Linked DNA regions of Homo sapiens: region 2 is linked to region 1. Evidence: promoter capture Hi-C in human tissues and cell types (Jung and others, 2019). All regions are on one chromosome and are shown on one strand. Each heading gives the region's core, a stretch centred on a gene start or on the middle of the fragment in contact. The rest is flanking DNA. Distances are from core to core; before and after follow the strand shown.

Evidence for each region. Contacts are between HindIII fragments. The study calls those that stand out against the background at their distance.
Region 2: a contact is called between a fragment that was not itself captured here and the fragment with the promoter of STC1 in region 1, in 1 of the 25 tissues and cell types used here (H1 embryonic stem cells).

Annotation. Positions count from the first base shown.
Region 1 is chr8:23,852,247-23,857,179 of GRCh38, forward strand. It overlaps STC1 (stanniocalcin 1), which reads right to left and starts at 2,560. Exons shown (of 4, transcript NM_003155.3): 1 at 2,160-2,560; 2 at 1-138. The coding sequence starts at 2,277. The HindIII fragment of the contact is 6,962 bases long and covers 568-4,933 here.
Region 2 is chr8:23,908,353-23,913,285 of GRCh38, forward strand. No RefSeq gene overlaps it. Among named protein-coding and RNA genes, the nearest start is that of STC1, 56 kb to the left of the region's middle. The HindIII fragment of the contact is 5,108 bases long and covers 1-4,489 here.

The DNA.
Region 1 (4,933 bases), core at 1,310-3,809:
TGTCAAATTTAGCAGCGCTGTACAAGAAGGATTTACAGATGTCATACATCCCATCTGTGTCACAGGTGGAGTTTTCCAGGCATGCAAAAGCCCCGCAGCCGACCTGTAGAGCACTGTTGAGGCAACGAACCACTTCAGCTGAAAGAGACAAATCCATCCATTCTGGGTCAAACAGTGAGGAATGGCTGGGTGGGATCAAGTGGGTGCAGAGGTGAATTTCAAGGACATGAGGTCAGAAGAACTTATCCTAGGAATCTGTCATGAGGGGCAATTGATAGACCCATTTGATTGAGAAAGAGAGGATAGACAGGCTCCTTTTGTTTATGATTGCTGGAGTACATGATGGACAGGGAGGGAGTTCTCTGTTTCAGACACACGCTCCCTGTTTCACCATTACCTACAATTTTGGTGTCTGGAGAAGTGAGGCTCAAGTCTGGAAATGCACAGTGCCTTTAAGCCATTCCATAGAATCAAAGGTCATTGCTTAGCACTTGAAAGCATGGGAAGGAAGGAGACAGTGGCTAGTGGTCAGGTTTAAGAGGTAAAAGGGCCAGGGAATCCATCTAGCTTTGGAAAAATGCACTCCCGAGTAAAAAGCATGGGATTTTAGTCTAAATGGCAGAGAAGACTGTGCCAGGAGTCCACTTGGAGACCCTTCTGATTTCAGGCTTTTAACTTACCGTCATATTGGCAAAAAGAAATCTGATCCGTTCATGTTTCACCCCAACCCTCCACTAGGACAGTGCTTAGAGGTATGCATAATCTCTTTCATATTAAAAGCCTTTTAAAAAAGAAAGAAAGAAAGAAAGAAAGAAAGAAGAAACACAGGTGTGGAATAACCAGGCCAAGGCCTCCCTATGCAAGACTGGAAGAAAACCGCAAAAAACTTGCATGAGGCTTTCTACATTCTGGATAAGATCTCCCATAAAAGTAATTTTTCTCCCACAGAAGGGGGGTGTTCTGGCAGGCAGCTAGGCAAGGAATGATCTGCAGCCTTCATGCCATAGGATTCTCCTCTGAGATCAAAAGCATGGTTCAGTTAGTCTTCCCCACCCCCTCCCACCACCCGCAGCCTCTAGGATGTTACAAGTCATTTCCCTAATTATATATTTCCACGGGTTTAAATTATAACTTTGCTTTAAGCAGTTTTAATATGCATTAGGGCTGCTATTGTTTTAGGCAAGCTCGAATTGTGAATCACTGCATCTCTATAGCAACTAAGTACAAAAGGAAGTGAAGCAAAAGCCCTCCTCTCGGCAGGGACCTGTGCTCTTCCAAGGGGATCATCATCTGCAGCATTTTGACACCTGTGATCCGGTCTTTGCTGACAGTTGGAGGACAGAGGGCAGTATTGGAAGGGGAACAAGTGGAGCCAGAGAAGTCAAGAGGCAGAGGTGTCAATGCAGGCTTCCTAATGATTCTTTTCCTTCAGAAGCCAAGATAATGCACAATTAACTGCTCCAAGAGTCAAGACGAAAGTGAGACCTTACCCTTGGAGAAACAGCTGCTACGTTTCACAATTTTTTTTTTCTAGGGGCTCTCTGGCTACGGGCTGCAGGGACGACTGAATGGAGCCCTACAGAGCCAGGAGGGAGACAGGCAGCAGGGTTGGGGGTGGGATGTATAGGGTTTTCTCTGAATCCGCCCTGGATTTGTCAGACTTGAGGGCTATGGTTCTGAAAATCAGTCTGAAGAGGGAGCTTTTCTGTGTATTCTCTTAGGTAGAGAAGTCAAGAAGTGAAGAGGTAGAGTCTTAAGAGGAAAGGAAGAGGGACAGCATCAAACAAGCCAGGTCTTACCTTAGATCAGCTTCTGGAAAGTATAGAGAGCGCTTTGAAGCATGCCAACATTCAAGCCTTTCCTCCCCTCTCACCCCTCCCCCTCCAAGAGGGTACGTGCCAGATTTCAGGCAATCAGGCTAGGCTTATGCAATGAAATACCCTCAGCAGAGCGTCCAGCTTCTTCGTTTAGTTGCATGCAATTTATTAAACAAAGGAGCTCCACTGCCTAAGGCTATTGGATTACACTGGCAGTTTATTGCCATCAGGCATGAAGCACATTTATTATCAAGATCAGCCGTCACAGACACAGTTGCAAAAGGGAGAGGCAAATGAGGACAGCTCTTTGGGGGAGAAACCGCTCTTGGGTTTGCTGCTTACCTGAGTTTTGAGCCGCCACTCGGGATTTCCTGGGGCTCACAGAGTCATTCTGCTCCGCCTCATGGGTTGCAGAAGCACTGATCACCAGCACCAGAAGCACTGCTGAGTTTTGGAGCATTCTCTGAGAAGTTTCCGCTAAGTTGTTGGGTTTTTTTTTTTTCCTGCCCCCCTTTCCTCTTTCCCTCTCCTGGCTTGAGTGAAGATGTGGATCTGGATACACTGAAAGCTTAGGTGAGGATTTGATGAGGATTTTTTTTTGTTGTTGTTGCTGGTGATGCTGCTGCTGCCACCGGTGCCTCCGCTGCTGCTGCTGCTGCCGCCGCTGCTGCTGCTGCTGCCACCGCCGCTGCTGCTGCTGCTGCTGCAGTCGCTGCTTCTTGCACCTCTGGCTTTTGCAAACTGGGGGCCCAAGAGCTGCACCCAGGGATTTTATAGCCGTTCTTATCGGTCCTCAGGATCAAGGACCAATCAGGTCCCTCAACTGGTCTGGTGAGCCAATAAGAGGGCATGCAATTCAGCTGGAGCTTTTTGACTTCTTAGAAATATTTTCCAGCAAATTAAAAGTACCTGCTGCCAATGTTTTATATGTGTGTGTGACTGTGTGTGCAGAGATGTGTGAAAAAGCTATTTTCGTGGAAGTAAGAGATAACTCTGTATTGATTGAACTAAAGAAAAATCCTATAGAAATCTCTCCAAGTTGCTTTTTGAAATCTAGCCATCTTTTTTTCTAATGAGCCACTTGGGGGAAATGGATAGCAGGGGTATGGTGGGGAAATGTGATCTCTTTAGATGAGAACTTAACCTGCTTACAGCAGTTTTACTCTAATTTTAACAGCACATTCTCGGTTCTGTTTTGTAGGCTACAAATGCAATAACTCCCTATCTTCTCTGTGTGTACATGTTCACATGTCTATGATGCATTTTTGTTTGTATGTGGACATCCTGGGTTCTCACTCACACATTTGAGCCCTTGAGGGGGAATTTATGTGAGTGGAAAAGCCTTGGGGGACTGAGATATGACAGCTCAGAGCTGAAGCCTTAGTCCCCCTACTGATCAACCTATGACTCTGGCTAAGTCTTTTTACCTTGCCCCACCTCGTTTTCCCATCTGTAAAACGCCAAAGTTGGACTCTGACATTCTGTATACCTCTAAAATAATGTGATTCTTCAATAATCAAATCAACTTTGACTTCATCTTTTCAGTCACCAGCAAAATTGCATAGTCCAGGAGTGTTAGTTACCCCAGGTACACATGTGCACACCTGCACATACCACACTCAACAGGGAGACATCATGAATGCCTGAAAATTAATAATCTGTGTTCAAGCCCAGCAACTTTATAACCACTTTGAAACAATAAGCTGGCCAAAGCAAGACTAAACCTGCTGAATGGAAACCAGTTCATTTCTTGGGGAGAGGGGTAGGAAAAAAGGGGGCAGAATGGAAAGAAGGGGTAGAGAAAGACCAGAATGTGTAGGAGAGAAGAATGATAAGCTCTAGACTTAATAGGAAAATTGCACTGCAATCACAAATCATGCCTGGTATAGAAACTTATATTTTCTTATAAGTGAGTTGTAGGCAATGCTGAGGTTTGTCCCCAACATGTGAAGGAGGTTAATGAGCCAGAAGAGGACTTCTTAGGGTAGGAAGGTGGTGAAGGTATTATACAATAAAACCTTTAATAATTTTGGGGAAGTAGATGAGAAATGGCCACTGGTGATTCATACAGATTTGGGCAGGATAATCTTGCAGAGAAATGGGGCCAGTGGCTTTACTTTGCATCCTAAAACCTTCAAACAAAAGTTGAAGAAAGAGTGCCACCCCTGTTAACCACAAACTAAACCAAGTGTCAGCTCTGTGTATGTTGTGGGGTGATAGGGTGGTGGGGGGCGGGGGGGGGGGGGCGGCGGACGGTTCTGGGTGATGATAGCCTATCCCTCACAAAATAGGGTTGTTTGGTAAGTATGAAAGTTTGCTAGAAAAAGGAATAGAAGGAATAAAGGATACAGGAAATATCTAAAAGAAAGGAAGGGAATTTTCAGATTTACATTATATAACAAGAATACATTTTAATTTATATTAACAGGCAGTATTGGTATTTCTTTAGAACCTTCTGGGCTGAGTGCTAGGGGACAATGTGGGAGGATAAATGAGAAGACATAGAGAAGAAGGTAAGTTCATTATTCTTGTCCTGAAGGTACTTACAGGTGAGTTGGGAAGATGACCAGCCACAGTCATACTTCCTAAAGGTTCGGGATGTCAGGACCTCATATAGTAAGACACAGGCTCAGGCAGCACTGGCTGGAGATGGGGGGAAAGCTCTTGAGGGAAAGATCAGTGGGGAAAGATGTAAACTGCTGTTGTTGCTTTTTAAGAATTTAGGAAAAGCTATGCTATTTCATTTTTAAAAAACAAAGCTTGTATTGTGGAAAGCTTCAAGGTTATTTGTATTGCTTTAGTTAGAAGTAGTAGATGCCAGGCAAGGCAATAGAATTTCTCAGTGCTCTCTTCCAGAAAGGGAGTAAGAGGACAGATGCGTATTCCTCCCAAGGGTCTTGACTTCTGTTCTTTAGCATTCTCTACCTCCTTGGCCATTATTCATCATCTAAGGCAGTGCCATTTGTTTCTCTTGGGCTTTCCCTGAGTTGGTCTGCTTGGCTTGGTAGGGTGATGATTTACCACCAGCCATCTACTTTGTTTTTCCAACTCTCCGTTGCTCTCACCAGAACACGATGTCCTACAAGCATCAAGATGTGTTTGTGTTTTTTTTTTCT
Region 2 (4,933 bases), core at 686-3,185, 55 kb after region 1:
GTCTGCCAGAATCACCATATGTCTGTCTTAAAAATGTCTCATCTTATTCAACAGGAAACCAGTTTAACACTGGGCCCTGGGCTGAAGGGGTCTTATAATAACATTATACTTTATCAGGAGGAGAAGCAGAGAGGCTTTTGCTCACAGCATGAGGGTTCAGGCTGAAAATCTCCTGGGGCATCACTTTTAGCATCTTCTTCCTCCACAAAGGCAACATTTCTCAGAGATTGTCAGGAATGAAGCATGGGGAAATAACTTATCCCAGGCCTCCTTGTGCAGAGGCTGGAGAAGAGGGATTGATAGTGACAAGGATTCTCATCTCCATTCTAGATGAGGGGTGGGGTAAGTGTTCTATAGCTCGACTCCCCACCCACTTTTTTGTCAGTTCTCTGACTTCTTCAATGCCCTGGAAGGTGGGAGTGGGATTCAAGGACAAAGGGCAGTGGGAGTAAGGGGGAGAAGAACTAAGATCTGTCGAGTGCTTCCTATGTGCTGGGTAACATCCATGCTTTGTGGTAACCTGACAATCACCCTGTAGGTTAATCTCTGTACTCTACGGGATAGCAACTGAGTCTCCATCACACTGAATGACTTGCCCAAAGTTAAGCAGAGAGTGAGGGGTGGAGCCAGTATCTGAACCTAGGCTTGCCAGCCTTGTCCAGTAAGTCACACCGATGCCCTTCACTAGTGTCCCCAATAAAGGATCCTTATAGGAGTGAAAAATGGGTTGGGAGGAAATAGAACAATGCCCAACACTCAGAGCAGAGGCAATAAAAGTTACCCTCACTCCTTTCCTCTCCATTCTCTCTTTCCGTTATCACAGGATTAGAGGTGGTGAGTGGGTGGCAGCAGGTGGTGCTTCTGTGGAAAGAAGTAAAGCGATACCAAATCGAGGCCAGCCAGAGGAGGACACTCTTTTGAGAATCTGGGGAGCATGTCAAAAGGCACAATGATCATTTTCTCTCTCTTCTTTCTCTTTTTGGTGGTAAGACTTCCTTAAGTCTTCCTTAAGGACAAGATGCATTTAGCTTCAAAGATACTGTTGACTGTTGATAGCTACAAGTAGCAGCTCTCAAAGTTTTTGGTGTAGGTCCTTTCACGCCATAAAAATTATTAAGGAATCTTAAGTGGTATTTAAAATGTGTATCATATTTATTGGTGTTTACTAAGGCAGATATTAAAATAGATAAAAATTCAAATACTTATTAGTTTCCTTAATAGTAACAACAATATACTGTTGTATGTTAAATTACATATTTTAATTAAAAAGAACTGTATTTTTCAGAACAAGATATTTATTGGGTAGAGTTGCATTGTTTTATTCTTGCAAATCTCTTTTATGTGTGTGTCTTAACAGAAGACAATAGCGTTTTTATATTTGCTCATACATTCAGTCTGTTGGAATGTACTATTTTGGTTAAAGTATATTTGGCAGAAACTTTATACAGATATGTAGTTGGAAAAGGGAGTATTTTAATTGCCTTTTCAGATAACATTACTGTTCTTTGATATGTCAAAGCTCAACAAGTGGAGATTTTTAAAAGGTTGGTGCAATGCAGAATATGAAACCATATCAATGAACTTTATGTGCTCTGTGAAATTGAGATATATTGGTCTATCTTCCACTTTGAATATATCTTCATTCATGCATGATTTTATAATTTTCCTGCATTGGTGATTTGGAAGATATTAGCTCATCGAGTCATGCGAATCTTCCAAATGTTAATTGGTTTTATTTTTAAAAGTCACATTCATTAATTGCTAACCTCATCAGAAAAGTCACTAAGTATTGGAAAGCTATCAAGCTCATAACAGTGGATACAAGTTTTCTAATATTCTTGTTTCTTTTGAAAGCTCAAACTTTATCATTGGCAACAAATGCTGATTGTTTCTCTTTAAGTGACAGATTCACTTTGTTCATTTTCAAGAAAATGTCTGCTAAATGCACGAATCTAAATAACCATAGTATTATGACTAGTCATTCTTCCAAGTAAAAAATGTTGCTGCATTAAAAAATCGGGTAGTTTAGCTCATAGTTTAATCACATCAGTGCTTTTTCTTGAGACAATCATTGGATGTAGGTGTGTAGCAGAAAAGCTTTATTCCTATTTCCCACTTAGTTACACCGAATATTAAAAAGACATGTACTCAAAGATTAAAATATAATAACATTACTACTTTTTCCTGCTTTATGAAGGACATTCTCAAGATAAATTGGCATTTTTCCTCCGTGCTAGTATGTGGTGTTGAAGAATATGGCCACTGGTAGAGTTTGATGTCACTTCCTTGATTTATGCTAAGTGAACAGCAATTTTATCTACCATTCCTGTGCCACTATCAGTGCAAATGTCAACATTGTTGGTCCAGGATAAAACATGAGATTTTTAAAAGTTATTAAGCACTTTGAATATGTCAGTACCACTGTGTTTGTTGCCAGGCACTTACATAAAACATCTTCTTTGATCATTAGTTGTTGCTGATACCAGACAAATTCAAGCAAAACAACAAGTTTAGCCATATCTATAGGCTCACTGAATTGTAAACAAAAGTGCAGTTGTGCAGAGGAGATACTAACTCAGTTTTTCTGTTTACAGACACATTTTTAATTCATCAAGTTACGTGTTTTTTGAAAGTGGCAGTGTCATGATTTTGTTAACAGACTTTTCGTCTAGTAGGCAGTTGGCAGATGTCAAATGTGGATGCTTTAGTAACATCTCAGTTATTATATCCACTTCTCAGCCAATGCTTTAGCTGCTGAATATCAAAATGATACCACACCTTAACTGACACCAAAATACCATTCAACAATATTCTGTTACATAAGACACACCTGGTAAATTATTATCTATAAAACCAAGGAAAAGATAACTTTTGCTTATTTTTATTTCTTATTTACAGTTTTGCCCAGTTTGGGGCAGTTTCTTCCCTTTCATGAGTCAAAGGACTCTGATATGTCAATATTATCTTTATTAGCATTTTAGAGCTAGATAATGCAGCTGTGAGTTGAAAAAGTAAGTCTCTAATTTCTCCCTTTAAGCCAACAATGTAGCCTAAAAAATGCAAGAAAAGCATATTTTAAATGCATTTTTATTTATTTTAGAATAAAATTCTATTAAGTCCTAAAATAATGTTTTAGATAAAATAGAAAAGTCTTAAAAATTGAAAAATAATTTTGCAAAAGAATACAGAAAGTATATTCACCTTTTTCTTGTGCTTCTGCATAGGTATGAGGAAAACTTGGGGATTTTAAAGTAACAGCTTATTGGACAGAAGGAGATAACACATATCAGATTATAGATGGTATAAATGGAAGTAGCTGGCAAAATCTCAGTAGAAATCCCGAGAACAAACTGAGCTAACCTCTGGAAGCATATGTGTTTATATCCTAAACCTACAACCTTACAAAGTTCTGGAAAACCCAGAACACAGAAACACATATTTCATTAACCATCAGAACAATGGAATTATTAGACATCATGTGGCTTCAGGAAAATACCTTATACACATGTGAAAGAAAAAGAGTGAAGAGGGCAAATGACATTTGTATTAGTCCGTTCTCGCACTGCTATAAAGAAATACCTGAGACTCGGTAATTTATAAAGAAAAGAGGTTTAATCGGCTCATGGTTCTGCAGGCTGTACAGGAAACATGGCAGCTTCTGGGAAGGGCTCACAAAATTCACAATCATGGTGGAAGGTGAAGGGGAAGTAGGCATGTCTTTCACAGCCGGATCAGGAGGAAGAGAGATGTGGAGATGTGCTAAACCATTCATGAGAAATCTACCACCATAATCCAACCACCTCCCATCAGGCCCCACATCCAACATTAGGAATTACAATTCGACATGAGATTTAAGTGGGGACATAGATCCAAAGAGTATCAATGTCTTAGTAATATGGCAAAAATTATCTTGGCATCATGGACTCTAAAAGAACTACTGATTCTTTGAGAGCTGCTGGATAAGGGGGGACTGAACAAGGTTCAGAGCAAAGAAAGAAAAAGGTAATCATTTAGGACCTGTTTTTGATTTTTAAGGGAAAGGGATAAAGGGGACATGAAGGTTCCACAATGTCAGGCCTACCTTATCTGAGAAGGCAGGCAGAGAGGAACTTGAGAACAGTGGCCCTACTGAGGAACAGAGGCTACAGATAGCTTGAACATATTTTGTGTGTGTGTGTGTGTGTGTGTGTGTGCGTGTGTGTGTGTGATTCTAAGTTGACTCTACATAGCAGAGGATTGCTGGCCTAGGTACCAGTCTCATGGAGAGCTGGGAAGACCTAATAGTCATCAATCGATAGAAGGCCTTTTAAAGGTGAAAGAGGAAAAGGAACAGAAAGACATGTATATTAAGAGATTGCGTTTTTTCACACTGAATGTAATGTTTCTATTCTTGTTTTTTTTTAAATCATACGGAAAAAAGTAAATATTTATTTCTTTACCACTGTTCTTCCATTGTAGTTCCTTGTTTTCATCCCCCACCCCATGTCCATTTCTTTGCCTAGAATTTTCCTGTCAAATGGTGAAGAATCTGAGCTGACCCAGAGTTTGATAAGGAGCAGTATTGGGTCTTCAGTGGCAATGATATTGTCTGGCAAGAAATGGTTTTCTTTGGAAATAGACAGTGCGCTTCTGACTCATTCTCCTGCCACCAAATTGTAACTGGCCTATTGACAGCTTCCACTGCTTTATACTTCTTCATCTCTTCCCTCTTCGTCCATTAGAGGATTTAAGGTGAATTAAAAACCAAACCCAAAATATAAACAAACTTAAAACATTACAGCAGTCTAGTTCATTAGAACTTACTGCAATGATGGATATATCCCATATCTGTGCTGTCCAATGTGGTAGCCACAAGTGACATGTGGCTATGGATCCGAGAAATGCAGCTACTGCAACTGATGAATATTTTAATTTAATGTAATTTGAACTTAAA